Linked DNA regions of Homo sapiens: region 1 is linked to region 2. The links are contacts of gene promoters, found by promoter capture Hi-C in blood cells and fetal thymus (Javierre and others, 2016). All regions are on one chromosome and are shown on one strand. The core of a region is centred on a gene start or on the middle of the fragment in contact, and the rest is flanking DNA. Distances in the headings are between cores, read along the strand shown.

Region 1 (5,193 bases), core at 2,177-4,676, 380 kb before region 2:
GCTGACACAGGGGACCCGGACTCAACCCCACATCCGAACCGCCCCTCCCAGGGACCGCCTCCCAGGATGGCGACGCAGCAGCATGTCCCTCCCTCCCAGGGCGTCTGCCTCTCTGTGCTGCCTGCCTTAGGTCCTGGGAATCCTGACGGCTGACATGGGCCCCCCCAGCACATTCACGGCCACTCGCTTACACACTGCACCTGCCTCACCTAAGGAGCCCTCGGGGTTCAGATTCAGAGGCTGACAACCCGACTCTCCCCTGGGGAGGCAACGGGGGCTACGTAAAGAACACCACGGGCAGGATGGACCTGCTCCCAGGAGTTCAGTGCCGGGACTCTCGTGCAAACATCACCAGCCACACACATCAACACGCTGGCACCAGCGTCACATAAAGCAGTGAGAAATGGAAACAAAACGGACCAACTCGGTCCCACCAGAGGCTGTCCAGGAGCCCCCCAGCCAAGTCCAACACGTCCCAGACTTGATATCGGCGACATGAAGCGCAACAGACGTGCAGGACGCACCAAAGTCGTCAGAGGACACAGCGGGAGGGACGGAGGACGAAGAGGAGTAGGAGGAGGAGGATTCCGCCTCACTAGGAGGGTGGGAGGGACGGAGAAGGAGGAGGAGGAATCCACCTCACTAGGAGGACACGGCAGGAGGGATGGAGGAGGAAGAGGACGAATCCGCCTCACTAGGAGGGCACAGCGGGAGGGATGGAGGAGGAAGAGGAGGAGGAGGAGGAATCCACCTCACTAGGAGGGTGGGAGGGACGGAGAAGGAGGAGGAGGAATCCACCTCACTAGGAGGGTGGGAGGGATGGAGGAGGAGGAGGAGGAATCCACCTCACTAGGAGGGTGGGAGGGATGGAGGAGGAGGAGGAGGAATCCACCTCACTAGGAGGGTGGGAGGGATGGAGGAGGAGGAGGAGGAATCCACCTCACTAGGAGGGTGGGAGGGATGGAGGAGGAAGAGGAGGATTCCGCCTCACTAGGAGGGTGGGAGGGATGGAGGAGGAGGAGGAGGAATCCACCTCACTAGGAGGGTGGGAGGGATGGAGGAGGAGGAGGAGGAGGAGGATTCCGCCTCAGGGGATTCACAGAAAGTTGTTGGTTCCCTCCTGCAATGCTAAGAAGATAAAAGGGGCTACAAAGAGTGACCTGAGGTTGTCTCTGGTACCCCAACCACAGTGAACGACCCAGGCAATTGCTTTAAAGGCCTCTTATGTGAAACCGGGTTTTTGTCCTATCATTGGTTTTTTGTTTTTTTTTTTTTTTTTAAATCTGGCCATCACCATCAACCCTCTACTTCATTTTGTAAATGTAGCCTCAACCTAAATGCAAACTTGCAAACAGCCAAGGCATTCTGCTTGTTTCAGCGGGAGGTGTGAACAGCATGTGGAGGGAGAAGAGGTGGCTCTTCGGGCAAGGCGCGGTCCTGGGAGCCGGCAGAGATCGTGTCAGACCACGACGTGTGACAAGAAAAAGAGAAACATTCATATTCTGCTGCGTCTCAAACAGCCACTCACGCAGGTCCTCACGTGCACAGCTGAGCACCCACAGGCCTGCACACACACCCATACGTGCACACACAAGTACACACACGGGTTCACAGGCACACACGCATGCACACAGGCACATGTGTGCTATGTGCCGATACAGAAGCACACACATGTGGGCACACGTGCACATACACACACAGGTACACACACGAGCTCACACACATGCACGCACACACAGGCACACGTGCACACAGATGCTCAGGCACACACTCGGGCGCACATAGGGACATACAAAGTACACACACCGGTTCACAGGCACACGTGCGTCCATGCACACAGGTACACACACAAGCTCACAAGCATGCATGCACACACACACGCACAGGAATACATGCAGACACACGCACACGGGTCTGCGCACACTCCCAGGTGCCGGACACCAGCGCCGAGGGCCCGCTCCCGCAGAAGGTACCTTTCCTCCGCTCGCTGCCTCTCCTCCGCTTCCTTCTCTCTGCGCTTTTGTTCTTCTCTTTGCTGCTCCAGTTCCTGAAGCTTCTGCCTCTCCAGCTGCCGCTTCTTAATTGAGGCATCACTCAGGTGTTTGGTCGAATCAAAAGAAACCTTTAAAAGCAAAAACAGTGTCAGATGGCCTTCCCCCAAAACCCCCCAGACACACGGCCAGGCGCCCTCTCCTGGGCCGTAGGGCCGAGTGGCCTCAGAGCCTGAGCGCCCGCTCACCGCTCACCGCTCACCACTCATGTCCGGTGCAGACCCAGACAGTGGAGCCCAGAAGCCAAACCAATCCCTTCAAGTCACCATCAGTGGCTCAAGACTTAGCTCATCCCACGGAGTTACGACTCAGCGAGGAACACCAACTAGCCCTCGCCACTTACTGAACACAAGTGACACGCCACCGCTGCGAGACACAGCTCCCCTTCCGCTACCCGGCTCCACCATTCCCTGTGGCCACAGTCACTGAGCAGGCCGCCTGCCCACACCCACAGGGCACATCTTAAGGCCACAAAACCCCCTCCAGGAGGCTGGCTCATTTGTCACTGTGAAGCCAACACGGTCAAAACACGAGGCTAGGCTGAGCGCAGTGGCTCACGCCTGTAATCCCAGCACTTTGGGAGGGCGAGGCAGGCAGTTCATGAGGTCAGGAGTTCGAGACCAGCCTGGCCAATACGGCAAAACCCTGTTTCTACTAAAAATACAAAAATTAGCCAGGTGTGATGGCACGCGCCTGTAGTCCCAGCTACTCGGGAGGCTGAGGCAGAAGAATCGCTCGAACCCAGGAGGCGGAGGATGCACTGAGCAAAGATTGCGCCACTGCACTCCAGTCCAGGAAACAGATCGAGACTCTGCCTCGAAAAAAAAATAAAAATAAAAAAAATAAAAAAAATAAAAAAGCACATGAGGCTAAAGGGAACGTTCAGCCCTGGTTTCAAGGTGCATTCTGGGAAGGCCGGGTTCTCTTGGTTCTGACACGGTTCAAATCCCTGTCAGAGTTCCTGAGGCTCCATCCCTCACCTACTATATGACCTGTGTCTCCCCCACATCTTCCTTAAGATACCAAATTTCCAAAACCACAGCACGGGACCCCTACTCCACCTCACGCCTGTGCCTCTGAAATTGGACAGGCACAGGACTGTTGCTGCCATTTTACTTAGGGGAGGTCCCCACAGCCTCAGGGGTGTGGCTGGGAGCGTTCTGCTGACCCTGCTGGAAGGAAGTCGCCAGAGGGAGGAAGCGCGTGGCTCTCTCGGTGCCCAGGACTCACCTTGATGTTGCAGGCCACGGCCTTGCCGTCCTCGCCCTTGTACATGAGTTTCATCCCGCGCAGGGCGCTCATGGCCTGGATGAAGCCCATGTACTCGCGGTACTGCACATAGGCCTCGAAGTTCAAGTGCCCCCCGAAACTGAAGGTGTGGAAGTTGCGGCCCGTCATCTCCTCCCGGTAGGGGTCCAGCATGGGGATGTCCACATTCCGGATCTCCCCGAACTTCTCAAACACCTTGACCAGGACGTCCTCGCTGGGCTTCTCGGAGCCCGACTCCTTCAGGGCGAACCACTTGCAGGGCAGCCCCTCCAGGTGGATGGTGTCCGGCCGCTCCCCCGGCAGGGTCTCGTTCATGTCCTTGGCGTCGCGGAAGAAGGAGTCCCAGTCGTGGCGGGTGGGGAAGTCGATCTTGAACTCGGCCGCGCGCACCTTCAGGATGTCGGAGAAGCCGCTGAGCTTGATGGTCTTGCCGTCCAGGCAGGCCAGAAAAGACTTGACCAGGCTCTTGTTCTCCACCTCCCCCTCGAAGCGGATGAAGTCCATGGTGCTCTTGGAAATACGCAGCGTGGAGAACTGGTGGTTCTGCACCATGCCCTTCAGCCTCTCCATCACCTCCCAGTTGGAGATGGACTTCCCCGGCTGCTTCAGCTGCGGGAGTGCCACGCTGATGGTCATCTTGGTGATGGGCTTCAGGTACAAGCCGTAAGCAGGGCAGAGCTCCACGGCCTCAGACGTGTCGTGCACGATGGTAGCCGCTGCCATAGCCTCCGGGACCTTGGGCCTGAAACATAAGACGCAGACAGTCAGCACCAGCACCCCCCACCTCCCCCGCCAATGAGGAGGGGCCAAGCCAGCAGGCACTTTCTGGACCCGGAGAAGAGAAACAGCAGTGTCTCTCTGCCGTGTCAGAGACCGGTTTCCACTTTGTTAACAGCCATCTCAACGGAGTTCTTTACTTTTTGAAATCATTAAGAGTACACCAAAGGGGAAAGAGCCGAGCTGATAAAGAACAGGTTAGTGTCAAAGCCTCGGTCAGCACTGCCCGACACCCTACATCCAGCAGCCAGCAGCTCCCAAGGCCTGCAGAATAGGAAGCTGAGCACGACCAGGCCCCTCACACAGGTCAAGTAGGAACGGGGACGCTACAAACGCCTAGCTCCACGGGAAGGGGCAGAGAGACACTGGGGAAGGGAAGGGGCCAGGGAGAGCACAGCTGCAGGCATCTGGAAAGGTTTTGTGGAGGGGGCGGCGGCCCTGTACTTGCCCTGATAAAACAGGAAGTCTCGGGCTGCAACAACAATCCAGAACCATGAACCCTAGTAATCTCCACGAAGGCCAAACGTATCCCAGCTTTAACCCACTCAAAGCCAAAAAGTACAACGAACTTTCCACAAGTTAGGGGCCGGAGTCCCCCGTCTGCGCCTTCTTTCTCCGCCCACCTTCATTAACCCACCTCTTCCCTGCTGAGCTGACGGGCAGCCACTTCCTGACGGCCAAGTCCAAGTAGAGGAAGCTTCACTCGCAGAAACCCAACCATCTCAGGTGACCGCCTCCGGCCCGGCCGCCCACCCCATCAACCTGGAGGCTTCCTGCCAGGCCCAGGAGACGGCCTCCTCGCCCAAGCCCGAGGTGGGAGGTGCGAAAGAAGGGAGGGAGGGTGGAGAAGCGACCAGAAAAGGTCAGTGGGGCACCAGGGAGGGGCTCCAGTCTGGACAGAGACCAGTGAACCCTCCCCCAGAACCCAAGCGGCCCCAGCAACTTCACCACCGAGGAACCCTCCCCACTCTGGCCTCCAGCGCCCTCCGACCACCCCGGTACACCTGGCTGCCCAATCCCCAGTACGCGGCATTGCCCCTGGTATTCCCACCTACCGCAGCCCCCCAGCATGGCCTCAGGCTGCCGCTGGCACCCC
Region 2 (5,292 bases), core at 2,761-5,260:
TGCCATCTCGGCTCACTGCAACCTCCGCCTCCCGGGTTCCAGCGATTCTCCTGCCTCACCCTCCCGAGCAGCTGGGATAACAGGTGCATGCCACCACGCCTGGCTAATTTTTCTATTTTTAGTGGAGACAGGGTTTCACCATGTTGGTCTCTAACTCCAGAAGTCAGATGATCCTCCCGCCTCAGCCTCCCAAAGTGCTGGGATTACAGGCACCTGCCACCACGCCTGGCTAATTTTTGTATTTTTAGTAGAGACGGAGTTTCTCCATGTTGGCCAGGCTGGTCTTGAACTCCTGACCTCAGGTGATCCTCCCGCCTCGGCCTCACAAAGTGCTGGGATGACAGGCATGAACCAATGAGCCCGGCAGGAGATGGTTCTTGAGGCTCACACTTCCTTCTTGTCCCCTACTCTCTACAGGGTTCCGTGAGACATGGTATTCTGGTCAACGTTGTCATCTAACCTTTCACACTGTGTCATTATTTGGATTATTTTATCTCTTCCATGACGAACCATGGAGCTCAGAGCTCTCAATAATGAAAGCATTGGGCGGGGCGCGGTGGCTCATGCCCATCATCCCAGCATTTTGGGAGGCTGAGGCTGGCGGATCACGAGGTCAGGAGATCGAGACCATCCTGGCTAATATGGTGAAACCCTGTCTCTACTGAAAATACAAAAATAAGCCGGGCGTGGTGGTGGGCACCCGTAGTCCCAGCTACTCGGGAGGCTGAGGCAGGAGAATGGCGTGAACCCTGAAGGTGGAGCTTGCAGTGAGCAGAGATCACACCACTGCACTCCAGCCTGGGCGACAGAGCAAGACTCCGTCTCAAAAAAACAAAAAACAAAAAAACAGAAAAACAAAAAAGGAGCCAGGTGTGGTGGCAGGTGCCTGTAATCCCAGCTACTCGGCAGGCTGAGGCAGGAGAACTGCTTGAACCAGAGAGGCAGAAGTTGCAGTGAGCTGAGATTGCACCATTGCACTCCAGCCTGGGCAGCAAGAGAAACTCCGTCTCAAAAAATAACCCCTCAAAAACAGAAAAACAAAAAATCAGCCAGGTGTGGTGGCAGGTGCCTGTTGCTTGAACCCAAGAGGCAGAAGTTGCAGTGAGCTGAGATTGCACCATTGCACTCCAGCCTGGGTGACAGAGGGAGACTCTCCACCTCAAAAAAACATAAAACAAATGTTAGTGGTCTCAAACTGGTCACTCACGGTTAATCCAATCTTCCTGCTGTCAAGCAAAAGAACACCTAAAATTCTTCCGTCACGTACTGGAGAAAGATCCTGCATTTGTGCTCTGAAAGTCCCCAAACCGCATCTCTAAACAGTTCCCACAATCACTTCTGCTTTGCTTGTACGAAGGAGTGGTGGCAACCAACAGGAATCACCTGCTCTGCCTGGCACACTTGTGTTTTGACCGCAAGGAATCTCCAGGCATGAGCCGAGATCTTTTAAGATGACATGTCTGTTCCAACCAGCTCTCTCCAGACTTTTATTTATTCACTTATTTATTTATTTATATATTTTGAGACGGAGTCTTGCTCTTGTCGCCCAGGCTGGAGTGCCGTGGCACGATCTCAGCTCACTGCCAACTCCGCCTCCCGGGTTCACGCCATTCTCCTGCCTCAGCTTCCTGAGTAGTTGGGATAACAGGCACCCACCACCACGCCCGGCTAATTTTTGTATTTTTAGCAGAGACGGGGTTTCACCGTGTTGGCCAGGCTGGTCTCGAACTCCTGACCTCAGGGGATCCTCCGGCCTCGGCCTCCCAGAGTGCTGGGATGACAGGCGTGAGCCACCGTGCCCGGTCCTCTACAGTCTTAAACTGGGGCCCCATCTACCCAGCATATGCTACCATCACAGTGTTTGTGGTGTTACGAGGAGAATGCCTACAAGCTTGAGTCCCTTGGTCTGGGAAGCTGGTCAGCGGCAAAGGTGAACTCTGCGTTTGTCTGAAGACAGATGAACTATGAAGTCTCTGGATGTCCAGCCCAGCTTGGGTGCAGAGTATATCACAGAACACTGACCACACAACTGCACACTCATCCACGAGTCTCATCATTTAGCAGAGAGCAAGAATTCCGGGCTTAGAAAGTTAGCATGTCATATTTTTTTTTTTTTTTTGAGACAGAGTCTCGCTCTGTCAACAAGGCTGGAGTGCAATGGTGTGACCTTGGCTCGCTGCAACCTCTGCCTCCTGGGTTCAAGCGATTCTCCCCGTCTCAGCCTCCTGAGTAGCTGGGATTACAGGTGCGTGCCACCACGCCTGGCTAATTTTTGTATTTTTTTTTTTAGTAGAGACAGGGTTTCGCCATGTTGGCCAGGCTGCTCTGTGATATGCTTTCAAGCAAAGCTCAGGCCAGGTGCGGTGGCTAACGCCTATAATCCCAGCACTTTGGGAGGTCGAGGCGGGTGGATCACCTGAGTCCAGGAGTTTGAGACCAGCCTGGTCAACATGGTGAAACCCCGTCTCTATGAAAAATACAAAAATCAGCAGGGTGGGTGGCATGCATCTGTAATCCCGGCTACTAGGGAGGTTGAGGCAAGAGGATTGCTTGAGCCAAGCTGTTTGAGGCTGTGGTGAGTCCTGATTGCACCACAACACTCCTGCGTGGGTACCAGACGAACACCTTGTCTCAAAGAATAGGAAAGAAAAGCTGGGCACGGTGGCTCACGCCTATAATCCCAGCACTTTGAGAGGCTGAAGCGGGCCGATCACTTGAAGTCAGGAGTTTGAGACCAGCCTGGCCAACATGGTGAAACCCCATCTCTACTAAAAATATAAAAATTAGCCAGGCGTGGTGGTGGGCGCCTGTAATCCCAGCTACTCAGGAGGCTGAGGCAGGAGAATCGCTTGAACCCGGGAGGAGGAGGTTGCAGTGAGCCAAGATCGTGCCACTGCACTCCAGCCTGGGTGACAGAGAGTGAGACTCCAGCTCAAAAAAAAAGAAAGGAAAAGCAAGAGAAAGGAAGGGGAGGTGGGGAGGGGGAGGGGAGGAGAGGGGAGGGGGAGGGGAGGAGACGGAAGGGGGAGGGAGAGGGGAGGGAGGAGGGGGTGGGGGGAGGGGGGAGGGGAAGGGAGGGGAGGGGATGTACACATCTACGTATCCATCTATGCATGCATCCATCCACCCATCCACCTATGTATCTGTTCATCCATTTATCCATCCATCCACCCACCTATCCACACATCCTTTCATCCACTTATCCATCCATCCATATACCATCCATGGAGGGGAGGGGAGGGGATAGGTGGAGGGGGTGGGGGAAGGGAGGGGGACAAAAGATGAGGGGATGGGAGGGGGATGGGAAGGGAGGGGGTGGGGTGGGGGGGAAGGGGAAGGGAGGGGAAGGGAAAGGAAGGGAAGGGAGGGGAGGGAAGGGGGAGGGGAGGGAAGGGGGAGGGGAGGGGGAGGGGAGGTGGGGAGGAGGAGGGGAGGGGAGGAAAGGGAAGGGGGAGGGGGAGGGGAGGGAGGAGGGGGTGGGGGAGAGGCAGAAGGGAAGGGAGGGGAGGGGAGGGGATGGAGGGGAGGGGAGAGGGGAGGGGGAGGGGAAGTGAAAGGAAGGGAAGGGAGGGGAGGGGAGGGGGAAGGGGAGGGGAGAGGGGGAAGGGGAGGGGAGAGGGGAGGGGAGGGGAAGGGAAAGGAAGGAAAGAGAGGGGAGGGGAAGGGGGAGGGGAGGGGAGTGGGGAGGGAATGGAGGGGAGGGGAGGGGAGGGGGAGGGAGGGAAGGGAATGGAGGGGAGGGGGAGGAGATGGGGGAGGGGGAGGGAAGGGGAGGGCTCAGCTCAGCAGTGTGCGTGGCAGTCCTGATCCTGGATTGATTGTGTGTGTGTGTGTGTGTGTGTGTGTGTGTGTTCTTGACAAGTGTATCTTTGAAAATCAACTGTCACTGTGCTTCCTGCCTGTAATCATTTCCCTAGTTTCCTTTCTGACTTTTTAAAATCGATGGTGACCTCTGCTTATGAGTCATGAGTGATCTGTTCGTTGTAGGTCCCTGAGGACCTCACTCTCCACTCCTGTTTCAGGCATGGGGCGGCTGGTTCTGCTGTGGGGAGCTGCCGTCTTTCTGCTGGGAGGCTGGATGGCTTTGGGGCAAGGAGGAGCAGGTAATTATTTAAACACCCTCTTCTTGTTGTATTTTGGTTTGTGGTTTGCTTTGCAACCAGGCACTCTTTATTTTGTAAAACTTAAACAATGAGCATGGAGGTTTCTTTCTTCTTTTCTTTTTTTTTTTTTTTTTTTTCCGGGTTCAAGCAATTCTCCTGCCTCAGCTTCTCAAGTAGCTGGGACAAAACATATTTATAAGTAAATACATGAATATTAAGTATACTTATTGCTCCCGGAATATCCACTGCTTATATGAGCTTTCGGTGGCCAGAACTAGGAACTGTATGTGTGCGTGTGTGTGTCTATCTATTGATTGATTGATTGGTAGATATATTCATTTTTAATCTATCCATCAATGTATCTCATCTATCTTTTCCCATTAATCACCCATCCATCCACTATCCATCCATCTATTATTCATTGATCCATCCACTAATATATCCATCCACCCATCTATCAAACGATTCATCCACTCATACATTCACCCACCCATCAACCCACCCAGCCATCCGTCCACCCAACCTTTCATTCACTCATCCATCCATCCACCATCCACCCAGCTGTTATCTATCCATCCTCCCATCCACCCATCTATCATCCATCCATCCATCCATCCACCCATCCACCCATCCATCCACCAATACATCCATCCATCCATCCACCCATCCACCCATCCATCTACCAATACATCCATCCATCCATGCATTCACCCACACTTTTATCCACTTATCCATCCATCCATCCATCCACCCATCCATCCACCAATACATCCATCTATCCATGCATTCACCCACACTTTTATCCACTTATCCATCCATCCATCCATCCATCCACCCATCCACCCATCCATCCACCAATACATCCATCCATCCATGCATTCACCCACACTTTTATCCACTTATCCATCCATCCATCCATCCACCCATCCATCCACCAATACATCCATCTATCCATGCATTCACCCACACTTTTATCCACTTATCCATCCATCCATCCATCCACCCATCCATCCACCAATACATCCATCTATCCATGCATTCACCCACACTTTTATCCACTTATCCATCCATCCATCCATCCATCCACCCATCCACCCATCCATCCACCAATACATCCATCTATCCATGCATTCACCCACACTTTTATCCACTTATCCATCCATCCATCCATCCATCCATCCATCCATCC

What was found. Contacts are between HindIII fragments. The CHiCAGO score rates a contact against its expected background, and 5 or more counts as called.
Region 1: a fragment that was not itself captured here is called in contact with the fragment with the promoter of CRLF2 in region 2 in 1 of 17 cell types (monocytes); the score reaches 5.0 in monocytes.

Annotation. Positions count from the first base shown.
Region 1 is chrX:1,592,313-1,597,505 of GRCh38, reverse strand. It overlaps AKAP17A (A-kinase anchoring protein 17A), which reads right to left. Exons shown (of 5, transcript NM_005088.3): 2 at 3,282-4,062; 3 at 1,974-2,122. The coding sequence starts at 4,043. Among named protein-coding and RNA genes, the nearest start is that of AKAP17A, 3.3 kb to the right of the region's middle. The HindIII fragment of the contact is 2,741 bases long and covers 2,056-4,796 here.
Region 2 is chrX:1,211,367-1,216,658 of GRCh38, reverse strand. CRLF2 (cytokine receptor like factor 2) reads left to right here and starts at 4,010. Exons shown (of 8, transcript NM_022148.4): 1 at 4,010-4,103. The coding sequence starts at 4,025. The HindIII fragment of the contact is 4,372 bases long and covers 1,894-5,292 here.